Linked DNA regions of Homo sapiens: region 1 is linked to region 2. Evidence: promoter capture Hi-C in 16 types of primary human blood cells and fetal thymus (Javierre and others, 2016). All regions are on one chromosome and are shown on one strand. Each heading gives the region's core, a stretch centred on a gene start or on the middle of the fragment in contact. The rest is flanking DNA. Distances are from core to core; before and after follow the strand shown. Region 1 overlaps XKR7 (XK related 7). Region 2 holds the start of MYLK2 (myosin light chain kinase 2).

Evidence for each region. The method cuts DNA at HindIII sites, captures the fragments that hold promoters and counts their contacts. A CHiCAGO score of 5 or more calls a contact.
Region 1: a contact is called between a fragment that was not itself captured here and the fragment with the promoter of MYLK2 in region 2, in 1 of 17 cell types (megakaryocytes). The highest score is 6.6, in megakaryocytes.

What each region holds. Positions count from the first base shown.
Region 1 is chr20:31,969,079-31,975,597 of GRCh38, reverse strand. All of the region lies in intron 1 of XKR7 (XK related 7), which reads right to left. Among named protein-coding and RNA genes, the nearest start is that of XKR7, 4.2 kb to the right of the region's middle. RefSeq lists enhancers at 2,521-3,020, 3,021-3,522 and a silencer at 3,138-3,432. The HindIII fragment of the contact is 802 bases long and covers 4,536-5,337 here.
Region 2 is chr20:31,818,053-31,824,022 of GRCh38, reverse strand. It overlaps MYLK2 (myosin light chain kinase 2), which reads right to left and starts at 4,667. Exons shown (of 13, transcript NM_033118.4): 1 at 4,595-4,667; 2 at 4,391-4,490; 3 at 3,477-3,897; 4 at 2,286-2,584; 5 at 441-546. The coding sequence starts at 4,442. RefSeq lists enhancers at 1-257, 258-785, 1,253-1,312, 3,642-4,183 and a silencer at 903-952. The HindIII fragment of the contact is 6,141 bases long and covers 1-5,201 here.

The DNA of each region.
Region 1 (6,519 bases), core at 3,687-6,186, 150 kb before region 2:
TTTAGAACAATGACTTTTGCCTGGTTGAGTGAGTGGGAGGTGGTTTCTGGGGGGCAGAGGGTAGCATGTGTGGGATTTGTTCAGAGAAAGCTTCTTAGAAGAGGTGGCATTTGAGCTCAGCCTGGAAGGACGTGCAGAATTTCACTGGGAGGAGACTGGAAACTGGTGTTGGGTGTTGCTGGAGGAAGGACTGCAGGCAATGGAGAGCAAGGGGGTGGGGAGCAGGTTGTCATGTGGGTAGAGCAGGGAGGAAAGACAAAAGATCAGGGGGCAAAGGGCCTCAAAGCCAGGCTAAAGCACAGGGACTTGCTCTAGGGACATAGGGGAGCCATCGCTCTGCCTGCAGGTGGAGGCGGGATTGGGGGTTGGGGGTGATAACCGGAGGCTGATAGGATTTCCCAGGGGAGGAATTTGGATGCCCTAACAAAGGCAGGGTGGTGAACAGAGAGGCCAGAGAAGATCCCAACCATCCTCCCTCCTCTCCCCAGGGACCTGCGCCCCAGATGCTGGGTTCAAAGCCATTTCCTGGCAGCCCTCCGCCCTCCCACTCCCCAGAGCTTCTCCTGTGTGGTCTTTATAGATCAAACAGGGGACGCTGGGCCCAACCGCCGCCGCTGTGTCTGTTAGGAGCAGCTCTAATGGTCCATGGCAGCTGGATGGGCAAGGGGAGGAGGCAGGGTGGGGGTGGAGAGCCTCCTGGAGAGGGGTCTCCCAGGAGGTGAGTGGTGAGGCCCAAACTGGAACAACCCTACAAAGGCAGAGCAGGGAGGAACCTCATGGATGGTCACTGAGTTCAGGGGACTGTAATCAAGTGTCAGCTGTAGGACAGATTATTCAAAACAAAATCTTAGACATGTCATAAAAGAGACATTCAGAGATACTTGGGTTAAAATGATGGAGACAGGGCTATAAAACACAGTTTGAAAATGATGGAATCCAACCCCTGACCTGTTTTACAAATAACAATGTCTAATTATCATTGTTGAGAACTTCCTATGTTCCAGGCACTGTGCTGAACACTAAACATTATTTAATTTTCTACTACCTCAAGCACCATGCGATAGGTGCTATTATTAGAGTGTCCATTTAGCAGATGAGAAAATCAAGGCACAGACAAGTCATGCCACTTGCCCCAAATCACAGAAAGTGGCAGGTGCAGGATATGGCTGATTCCAGAGAGTGGATGCTGAACCATTAACTCTGGCCCCAGTGGAGAGACTGAGGACCAAAGAAGGAAAGAGGTCGCATTAGCTCAGCCTGAAGCAGACCCCCATCCCTGTTGCTACAGTTTGATCCAGTCTCCATTGTCTCTCTCCTGCATCTTTGTAGCAGCCTCCTCATGCATCTCCAGGCTTACTCTGCCTCCCTCCAGTCTATTCTCTCTCTTTTTTATGCTTTTTCTCTTGAGATGGAGTCTTGCTCTGTCACCCAGGCTGGAGTGCAGTGGCTCACTCTCGGCTCACTGCAACCTCCACCTGCCAGGTTCAAGCGATTCTCCTGCCTCCGCCTCCCGAGTAGCTGGGATTACAGGTGCGCACCACCATGCCCAGCTAATTTTTGTATTTTTAGTAGAGACCGGCTTTCACCATGTTGGCCAGGATGGTCTCGATCTCTTGACCTCGTGATCCGCCTGCCTCGGCCTCCCAAAGTGCTGGGATTACAAGCGTGAGCCACTGTGCCCGGCCCCTCCAGTCTATTCCCCACCCAGCAGCCAGAGTGGACATTGCAAAACACAAGTCAAGATCATGTTCCTTCTCTGGCCAAATTATCCTGGGCTCCCCGTGTCATGAAGAGTAAAAGCCCTAGTCCTTGCCATGGCCTCTGAGGCCCTGCATGACCTCGCCCCTGCCAATCTGTCCACCAGCATCTCCAAACATGCTCCCCTCACTCTATTTCTGCCACACAGGCCTTCTCCTTGCCCTTCCCTTTTCCTTTGCCTGCAAAACCCTCCCCAAGACCTCTACACAGCTTGTCCTCACCTCGTGCAGCCCTTTGCCCACATGCCACCTCCTTGGAGAGGTCCACCCTGACCACCCTATCTCAAAGAGCCACACCTCTCCCTGGCACTCCAGTAGCTCCCTGCCCTGTTTCATTTTTTTCCCCATAGCACTTATCACGATCTGGCCCAGGTATTATATATCCCATATAATATATATCATAGTTTATTTTCTTATTGGTTCCTTCATTAGGCTATTGAGCTCCAAGAGGGCAAGGACTTTGTCTTGTTCACCACTCTATTCCCAGCACTTAGAACAGTGCCTGGTATACAGCAGGTGCTTAATAAATGTCTGCTGAATGAATGACTGCAGATTAAATGAATGACTGCCATGTCATTATGGCTTCAAGGGACTTCAGGACCCCCTTGCTGTCCTGCCATGTGCTCCGTGAACAAAGCTTTGTTCCACAGGGAGCAAAGCCCAAGCTAATGCACTAATCATTGCCAGCAGTTTCTGAGCATTTAACGATGGAATGAGCCCTTTGCTGAACCCTTACACATTATCTCATTAAACCTTGAAACAACCTAAGAGGCGGGTGGGTACAATTTTGGTCCCTAGTTTACAACGGATGAGAGATTATTTGCCTTGTCAAGGTCACATATAAGAAGTAGTAAAGTCTGGATTTAAACTGAGGACACTTGAATCTAGAGTCCGTGCTCTCAACCCTCTCAACCGTTATGCCAAGAATGTAGTTTCCCAGAGGGGAAATCCAGAGCCTGACATTTCCTTCCAATAGGTCACTAACTCATTCCAGAACTTCTCTGTCATGCAGGGCTTCTTAGGTGACATAGAGTGCAGTGTCTGGGCCTATGCATAGAGAGGGCATTAGAGGGAGGGCCCCTAAATCCCAATTGCCTAATTTTCTCCCCATTTTGGGGTTCCCAGATCCCGAAAGCCTGGCAGGAATCCCATGTCAGATCGTCTCCCACTAATTGGCTTAGCAAACCATGCTTATCTGGGTGAAGCTGGGGCCCACTGAGCTCAAGATTAGGAAAAGCAGGATTCATGGCTTACTGCTCTGCTGCCTACAGGGTCAGAGGGGACAGGGTTAGGACTTTAATTAGCTTAAGAACCCTGGGCAGTTTAACAGCTCAGAGAGTTTAAAGGGAAGGGAGGGATGAAGTTGCAGGTTGGTGTCCAGGCCACAGCCAGCTTCGTGCCCCGCCAGAGGATCTGTTTGCTGTTCCCTCAGAGTTCAATCTCTCTGTGCACAAAGATATTGTTCTGGCATGTCCCAAAGTAGCCAGTGTGTGGTGTAAAAGATAGAGCTAGGTTTGGGACTGATCACCTTTCCTCACTTCCTCAGTGGGTGACTTTTGGACAAGGTTCCTTATCTGATAAATGGGTATATCAATAGTCACCAGGGGGGAGGGTTTCAGAGTAACATGAGATCACATGCCTGAAACACTCACACAGGGCCTGTGGGGACACGGTAGGTGTGCAGTGTCTGTGTATGCTTTCTCCTCCTCTCTCTCTTCAGAGCTTCATTTTATGTTTAAATTAGTAATAAAATCTTCTGTGTGAAAAGACCTTATCAATTTGAAGAGCTAAACCAGAGGTTACAAAGAAGACAGGCTAATAAATATGTTTCCTTTGGTTGACACTATTTTTAAACATTTTAATTAGTAGTTAAATTTTGGAGAGTTCACGGAAAAATCCCAATTTCCCATTTCTCTTGAGAAATCAAGACTGGGTCCACGATTTCTCATGGCATGATCAGCTGGAGCTTCCCTTTTCCTCGGACACTACTTGCCCCTGAATGTCCTCTTGTCTGACACCCCTTGTATCTTATGGTCTTATGGTCTGTTACCTGCCTGGGTCCTCAAAGCATTTGAATTTTTAATTCAGGATTTTACAAGTCTAAGAGGTTGAAAAATATCTTCATGATTATAATTATTTTATTCAGAATTGAGGAAATGGGATCAGGAGGTGAGTGACTGCCTAGCCTCCCAGGTGTGATTCTGGAGGACTCAATCACACATCTCCCTCTTCATTACCCCAGGCCCCACCACTCAGAACATCTGTGGGAACATCTCACGTGGTAAGCAAATGTGCTGGGCCAACATTGCTTAATTTCTAGGAATGCCAGCCCCTGCAGCTTCTCTATACCTTCTCTGGGTTTTCCCTCCATTTATCCAGGCCCTTAGCCATTTTAGAATCCAAAGATTTTGGGGGCAAGGGCCCAGAGGCTTTTGCTTTGGCAATAGACCCAGAGTCAGAATTTCAGGAATGGGAAACTCTTAAGGTCATCACATTGAATCTCATTTCACACACAGGGAAACCGAGACCCAAAGATGGAAAGAGCCTTGCCCAAGGTCACCCAGCAAACTATAGTTACAAACTAGGATAAAGATGTCAGCCTCCTGACCAGACCACCCCCGAATCCAGCCTTTTCCCCACAATACACACTGTTCCCGTCCTCACCCACATAGTTCAACTCCCTGCCCCTCTTTTCACATTCTTATCTCAGTGCAACAGAAGCCCTGACTTTCTATCATACTGGAATCTTGGAATCTCAGATTCATACTTCTTTAAGCTTGAGGGACACTTTAGTGGCAGAATTACAAGGTGGATAAATTGAACTCAGGCTTTAAAGGCAGAGAGCCTGGAGTCTCAGCTCTTCAAGTTCCTAGCTGTGTGACCTTGGACAAGGATGCCCCCTCTCTGAGCCTCCATTCCCTCATCTGTCAAGTAGAAATTATAATGCTAACCACATGACAGGATGATTAGAAGGGGTACAGGAAATAAAGCAGGTAAAAAGGCAACCAGTAGGCTTGGCACAAAGTCAGTGTTTAATAAAATAATTGTTATAGAACTGTAAATTAGGGCTTTCATGTCTAAGTGAAATAGTACAGATATGATCAAAGGGAAAGATGGACAAATTAGAGCACATAGACTCTTTCTAAATTGTTACAGGATTGATACTGCTAGATCCAATTTTTTTAAAGGGAAGCTACGACTCTGGGTTTTTAAAATACTATGCAAGCCACACAAAACACTTCCACAAGCCACATTCAACCTAAGAGCTATTAGATTGTTATCCCTACAAACTTATCTCATCCCAGCCTCCTCATTTTGCAAATGGGAGATAGTAGAAATAGCTAGTCCTTTTATCCATATCCAAGAAACCATAGAGCTGAGGGGATCCTTAGCAATTCTAGCTACTCCCCTGGGACCCCACACCCATGGCCATTTTTGCCCTATTTGAGGGAAACTCAGTTTATGCTTAACAAAGAAGAGAAGTATTAGTTTCTTGTAAGTGGATTCTGAATGGGGGGATAGCCAGTGAGTCGAGGGGCATCTGGCCCACTTTAGGCTGAAGGAAAAGGGGGATGAAGCTTCCTACCAAGAATAGGAAGTTACCATTTCAGAATCTAAAAATATCTTTCACCATCTGTCCACTCGGGCACAGAATGATAAATGCAGATTAGTTCCTGGATGTAGACATGAATATTTTTATGTGTCACGCTAATAATAATAACACCACCTTGTGTGGATAGAGCTCCGCCCCCTTTTCCTCCAGGATAAGCTAAGTGGAATATACACATCATCTTGGCAGGAATAGATAGGGAAACAAAGGCAGAGAGATTCGACAACACAACAAGAGTGACACAGCAAGTGAGCAGCTGGGACAAACCCTAGGAGTCCTGTTTTCAACCCTCAGCCCCAAACTGAATCTTCTGAGTTAGGCAGAATGTGTTAACAAGTAGCAGAATAAATATAACAACAGCAGTAATCACCCTTTATATCTCTAGAGTGACTTTTTCCATGCTTTCCCCACACTCTTAAAATGTTACAGTCTGCAGGGCCCTCATGCAGACCTCTCACCTGACCATCCCAACAGGTAAGAATAATGCAATGATAAGACAATGAGATAAGAGGAGTAGGGATTCTCCCTCATTTCACAGAAGAGGAAACTGAGGCTTGGAAGGAGGAGGGCGGCTTGCCTAAGATCATATAGTAAGCAAGTTCATTCTGTTAGAGCACAGAAGGGCCTAAGCTACTAAATAGCAATTCAGATTCAAGAGGAGCCCTAGGTTTAGAATTCCTCCTCTCTCCACTTAACTCAGTGCAGCAGGCACCCTCAGTTCTGGCAGAGGAAGAAGACTGAAAGTGGGCAGCTTGAACAAAGCCTCAGTTTTGCCTTACCAGTTCGGGATTAAAGGGCAGCCAGTGGCCATCTAATCTCAGATTCAAGATTCCAAATCCCCTTGGCCCTGTTGGAAGGGGAGGACCCTTAGCTGGGGGAGAGGGGGTCATAGGAAGTAGAAGGAGCCTGAGGGCTCCCCAGTTGGGTCCAGCATATCTTTCTCCAAAAAGTCCAAGAAGTTTAGGCGGGATATTCATTTAGCTGTCTCAAATTCTGTGACTCTCCTTGCAGGTTGTGAATGAGCTGCAATTCTGAACTGAGGATCTTTGCGAGCAGGAAAGGACTTCTGAGATCTTTCCTGAGCCCAGGCTTGGCACTCAGGCAGAGAGGAGTGGGTTATGGCAGAATAGGGCCCTGTGGTCCTGTTTTAAG
Region 2 (5,970 bases), core at 3,418-5,917:
CAGGCGTGTAGGGAGGATGGCCCTGGGATGCGACCCTTAGAGGTTTAGGGCAGGCAGGCCCTGGGCCCTGGGGGAGGGCACCTTCAGGCAGAGGGAGGATCTGCAGAGGTATAAGACTGAGTCAGGGCTTTTTACAAAGCAGGAATCACCATGAGGGGGTCAGTGTGGTGCCTGGAGCTGAGACAGACAGAAAAATGCTGTGTATTTCCTACGGAAGCACTGAATGGCTGACGGTGCGTCTGAGTAAGTGACAGCAACACTGAGTGCACATCAGCATGTGACAGCTGCACACAGTGTGTGTCCCACACAGAGGTGAACATGTCCATGTGGCCATGTCTCAGCGGGGTGTGTGTCTGGGCCTTGCACAGGGGAAATGTGAAGCCACAGGAGCCCGGTGTACTCTCTGTCCATGAGTGCCCAGCTGGGGTCCCAGATCTCACCCTCCGAGCGCCTCCTTGGAGTTCATACTGAATTCACTGCTGACATTCCCGGTCCTCAGCTCCACCATGCGGTGAGGGAAGGGGGCCGGAGGTGGCGGGCAATCATCTGGGGGACAGAGCACAGCCCTCATGGTCAGTGCCAGGGGCTGCTGAGGATTCCCCTTGGCACCACCCCTCCTGCTGGCCTGGGCCCCATCTAGGGAAGTTAAGTTCACCAAGTGATACCTGGGGGACACCTGGCTCCAGGATAGGGGCTATGGGGCCCAGTTTCCAATATCAGTTCTGCCACCAACACAACACTCCTATCAGGGAGGACCAGCTTCTCCTGGCAGAACAAACGGGATGGGAGCTTGGACTTTTTGGACCCTCTGCATTATAAGACACAAGGACTCCATCCCAAGCTATCTGCATTTCCACCAAAAACAATCAAACACAGCAGCTATAAAGCGGAATGCCAGGCAGTGGGGTTGCTATGTCTGAATAATGGGGTAGGTGGTGGGACCTGCCCACCCTCCATCCTAATAACACCGCAATCTGGCCAGACCACCCATGGCGGGGCGGGACCGGGGACCGTGCTGTTTGGTGGGGAGAGGGCGCCACCTAGCGGCAAGTGTGGGGAACCGCTCGCCCTGAAGGCTGGCAGGCCGGCAGGCGGTCATCAGGAATGGAAACCTCTTTATAAATAGCAAGAGGCGGCAGGGAAGCCGGGCTGGTGATAAATCAAACGGCCTTTGGAGGTGGTTCAGATCCTGTCACTCTAGGATGCGATTTCGGGGCGGGGCGGAGGTCTCTGCGGCTGCTAGGGGCGGAGGCAGGGCTCCTGGCTGCCGCCCAGCCGCCAGGTCCTCCCACCCTGTCTGGGTGGCACGGTGCCGCTCACCAGGCAGGCTGGCGGGTCTCCCAGGGCACTTCAGCCTGGAGGCAGGGGGGTGTCAGGACACTCTGGGTTCTCCTGACCCCATCTCACCCCACCCCCAGCCCTGCCGCACCCCTGCCCAGGCCCTTTCCCTATTCACCTGCTGGCCAAGCTCACTCACACTCAGTGCTCTCTGCAGCCCATGAACAAGCCACGGGCTGCTTGTCTAATCATCAATGAAGGCCACTCCACAGTCCTGCCCCATTGCACATGCCCAGCTTCCTTGGTCACTGCTCCCACACACAGGCACCTGTGCTCCTCAGCGCATGAGCCCTCTATAGCTCCCACGACCCCACCCCACTATACAGTTTAGCTACTAAGCCTGGCATTTGAGCCCTTCTACAGATTGACTCCAAATTCCATTGCCCAGGGAGTTTGTGTTGCTCCAATAATCTGCCTGATTTTTCTTTTTTTTAACTTCATTTTAGTCAAAGTAGAAAAAACTCAAAAGTGGGTTCTGGAGTCTGGGTGGCCTGACAGGTTCAAATCCTGTCTTCACTGGATATGTTTGGGCACTTCATTTTCCTTTTTCTGAGCCTTCCTTTCCCCATCTATCAAAAGGGAATACTAAATTTAAAAATAAAAATACATCTTAAAAAATAAGATTGAAGAAAGCCAGGTATGGTTGTACACGCCTGTAGTCCCAGCTACTCGGGAGGCCAAGGTGGGAGGATCACTTGAGGCTGGGAGTTTGAAGCCAGCCTGGGCAACGTAGCAAGACCCTATCTTTTAAAACAAATAAACAAATGAATAAACATACGTTAAAAAAGGAATACTTTCTGGAGTTGTGTGACCCTTAGATGAATGGGCCTGGGTAAGGCTTGGCTCAGGGCAGTTCAGACCTCCGAATAGGTAGACTTGGGACTGACAGCCCCCTTCCCTCCCCCTGGCCCCAGGGCAGCCCCAGCCCCCACCTGCCCCTGGCCTACCCAAAATCTGGAAGCAGTCCTCCTCCCTGGCTGTGAGACAGAGGGCCTGCCCCACCTCGGATTTCTCTGAGGGAACAGCCTGGAACTCAATCCCCCTCGAGGTGTCCCCTTGCATCTTAGCCTGGCCAGCCTGGCCTGGGGTTTTCTCTCCCACTTCCTTCTGGCTCTCTGCCAGGATGTTCTTTCCTTCTTCTGCCTTGGCTGGCCTGGGATCCGTGGGGCTGTGGGTCATGGGCACCCCTTCAAAGGTGAGCTCTGATGCCTCGCTTGGGGGCTTCTTGGCCAGCAGCTTCTCAGAACTAGAAGGTGAGAACACAGAGGTGAAGCCCTCAGCGGCCACAGCCTGTGGCATCAGGCAAGTCTCAATGCAATCTGCAGAGCTAATCCAACCCCACCCCAAATGCATGGTGTAATACAGCCAAATTCACCTGGTACAAAATTAAGGGATGTTCATGGCTGTGGTCATTATCTTGACTACCAACACACTAATACATCATTAATAACTATTAATAGGATTGTTGATATGGTTAATCATCATGTGGATACAACTAGGGAGTTATGTAGCTCTTGATTCATAAAATCTGTTGTGATATAATTGATACATAATTATCAAAGTGATATGGTAAATGTTCTTATTGTGGCTTACAATATATCATTAATGACCTCATTAGCATTCAGGTAAGTATAACTGATGGCATCACACATGTGCTATATTATGGTTATGAAAATATTATCAATGATCCTCCAATCTGGTTATTAGTCATCTTTTCATATCTTACCAATAATTATATTAAGAAGAACAGGAAAATACTGGATGTCCTAGGAAATACACAGCCTTTTGCCTGACACCTTTAGCCTTTCTGCCTGCCATCTCAACCCTGCCCTTGGCTAGACCCAAGCCCATGGAGTAAGGGGAACTTCGGACCCCAGAAGCCTAGAGAAGATATGTTCAACCTAGGCAGTCTTTGAGGGTCTCTCTTACTCCAGTCTTGTATGAATTGTGGCAGGGTTCTGGTTTCTGCAGGGGACAAGGCGGTAGAGGCAATTCACAGGACAGAGGAAACTGAATGTCAGAACTACACTCCCCAGCACTGAATGTGATGATAACCATGCCTAAGACAAGGGAATTAAGCAGGACCCCTAGGGACAGAACCACAGGACCCCTCCCCACTCCCAGGAGGGGATATTCACCTGGAGATGATGGCAGGACAGCTGGGGCTATGCAGAAAGGCAGGTGAGCCCCTCCTGGCTGCTGCTTGGCCCTCTGCTGCCTTCTTGCCCACCCTGGGCTTTCCAGGATCCTGGCTGCCTGAGGCTCCCTGCTCAGCCTTGGGCTTCTTGACGCTGGTCTCAGGTGTCGCAGTCTGCTGGGGCAGGGCTGCCGGGGGCCCAGCACTGCCCTCCGCGGGCCCCCCGCCCCTGTCACCCTCTCCTTTGGGGCCTTGGCTGCTAGTTGAGGGTTGGGCCAGGGTACCATCCCCTTTCTCTGAGGCAGGGGCTTTGGCATCTTTCTTCAGGGTGGGTGGATCCGGAGCTTTCTTTGGGTCTGGGGGGCCAGGGTCTTTCCCTGCAGCCAGGGGTCTTTCACCTGTGGGACCTTTAGGTGCCTTGTCTGCAGAGGAGGTGAGACACCCATCAGGATCCACCCTCCTTTCCTTCCCTCTCACCCAGGCTGGGCAGAGACCAGCTCTGGGCCCAGGTTCCCACCCAGGCAACAACTTGCAAATGCTTGTCCCACTGAGTCTCTGGGGCCACTTGATGGCCCCTAGAGATGAGCTGCCACGACCTTGGAGGGCCTCTGTGGGAGGCTTCCAGCCCTTTGGGTGGGCCTTGGTGGCCCCCATCATCCTTGCCCTGACTGTTTAGGTGCATCCCCAGCAGCCATCCCTGGTGGCTTCACATTTTCCTGGTCTCTCCAGGAAGGGCTTCATACAGGCCCTGGACCCAGCCCAACCCTAGCCAGAGATTCCTCTGATTTCTGGGTCCCCCGTGCACCATGCAAACAAGGCTGGGGCACAGAACTCCCACTGAGGAACCTGCCCAGTCCTGGATTCAAAACCCCCCTTCCCAAGCTCCTCCCTCCATCTCCTGCCCCAGCTTGGCACCTGTTGATGGGTTCTGAATTCCCAGCTCAACTGCTCCATTTTCTGTCGCCATGAGGTAGGGAGGCGTGTGCTGCTGCTTGTCTAACTCAAGTCTTTCTAGCTGCAGAAACAAGAGTGGAGTGTGTCAGGCTGTCCAATTTCCCCTCTCGTCTGGCTGCAGTGAGACAGGAAGCCGAGGCCTGCTAACTGAGGGGAGAGAGGTACCTGGAGCAAAGAGGGGCAACCTGGTTGCCGTCTGTCTCCCAGCGGCTGCTCAGGAGCAGTCCTGGGCAGTTGTAAGGGATTGGGCCGGGTGGGCAGAGGCGGAGGCAGGGGTGTGGGCAGTGGAGGCGGGGACGGAGGAGAGGATCTCTTACACCAGGGGCCATGCAGCTGGGACTGCCGCCACCTGTCACTCTTGGCCCCAGTTCAGAGGACACGGCATTCTTCCCATGGCCCGACTGGGGGGAGAATGATGTTGGAACAAGCGAGAAAAGGGAGGGGTATCTGGGACGCTGGGGGAGCAGCCCTTTCCCCAGGCCTTGCTCAGTATCCCTGACTTGGACAGGATCAGAGGGGGCCTGGAAGAAGGGGAGTACTCAGGCAGGCCTGAAGGGCAAGAGTATGCCCAGGCTGAGCCCTGGTCTGCCCACCTGTGTGCCACATCTCCTGGGGCTCCCCAGAACCTGGCTAGAGCCACAAAGTCCCAGGGATAATCTCCCTGACCCTAGTGCCTAGCTCTGTGCCTCGACATCTGGACCTGCTTGCGTCACCTTTGGGTAAGAAATTGTCTCGGGGGCACTTTCTCAACATGTCCATAGGCCTGGAAGCTTTTTCTTTTGAAACTGTCCTTTTCTTGGGCTCCTGGGGACACGGAGGCTGCCCTGAGTAGCCATGGGAGATGGAGAGTGCTCTGTGCCCCTCCCCCAAGCTCATCCAGTTCTCACCCATGACCCACATGGAAGAAGGGGGCTGGCAGAGAGTCTTTTCAAGGATGCTCCACTACAGGGGTGGCCCGAGGGGCACTCTAGCCTGAGGTGTTCGAGATAGGATGAGGACAGCTATGATCCAAGGAGCCTTCCATCACCCAGAGCCTTTCTCAGAGGGGGCTCTTGAGAACTGGCCAGACCTGGGTGCATTAGAAGTAGCTGTAGAGGCCAGAAGCAGTGGTTCACACCTGTAATCCCAACACTTTGGGAAGCTGAGGCAGGAGGATCACTCGAGGCCAGGAGTTGGAGACTGGCCTGGGCAACATAACAAGACCCCGTCTTTATATTTTAAAAAGTAAGATAAAATGAAGTAGCTGTAGAGTGGTTATCCAGGTTCAGGTCCTGACTGCAGCAAACCAGTCACTTCACTCCATGGCCTCGGCTCCTCTGTCAAATGGGAAGCCATTGGAAAAACGCTTGATGAGAGAAAGGAGGGAGAATGCAGCCCCTCTAAGCAGTGGGGAAATAGGAACCTGTAAAAAAAGATTGAGGAAGCTGTTAATGAACTGACAAAAAGTGACCACCAAAGTGGGGGGAATAAAAAAAGCAAGATGCAAAGTAGCATGTAGAGTGTGCTATCCATTTGTGCAAAAAAAAAAGGGAGAATAATAT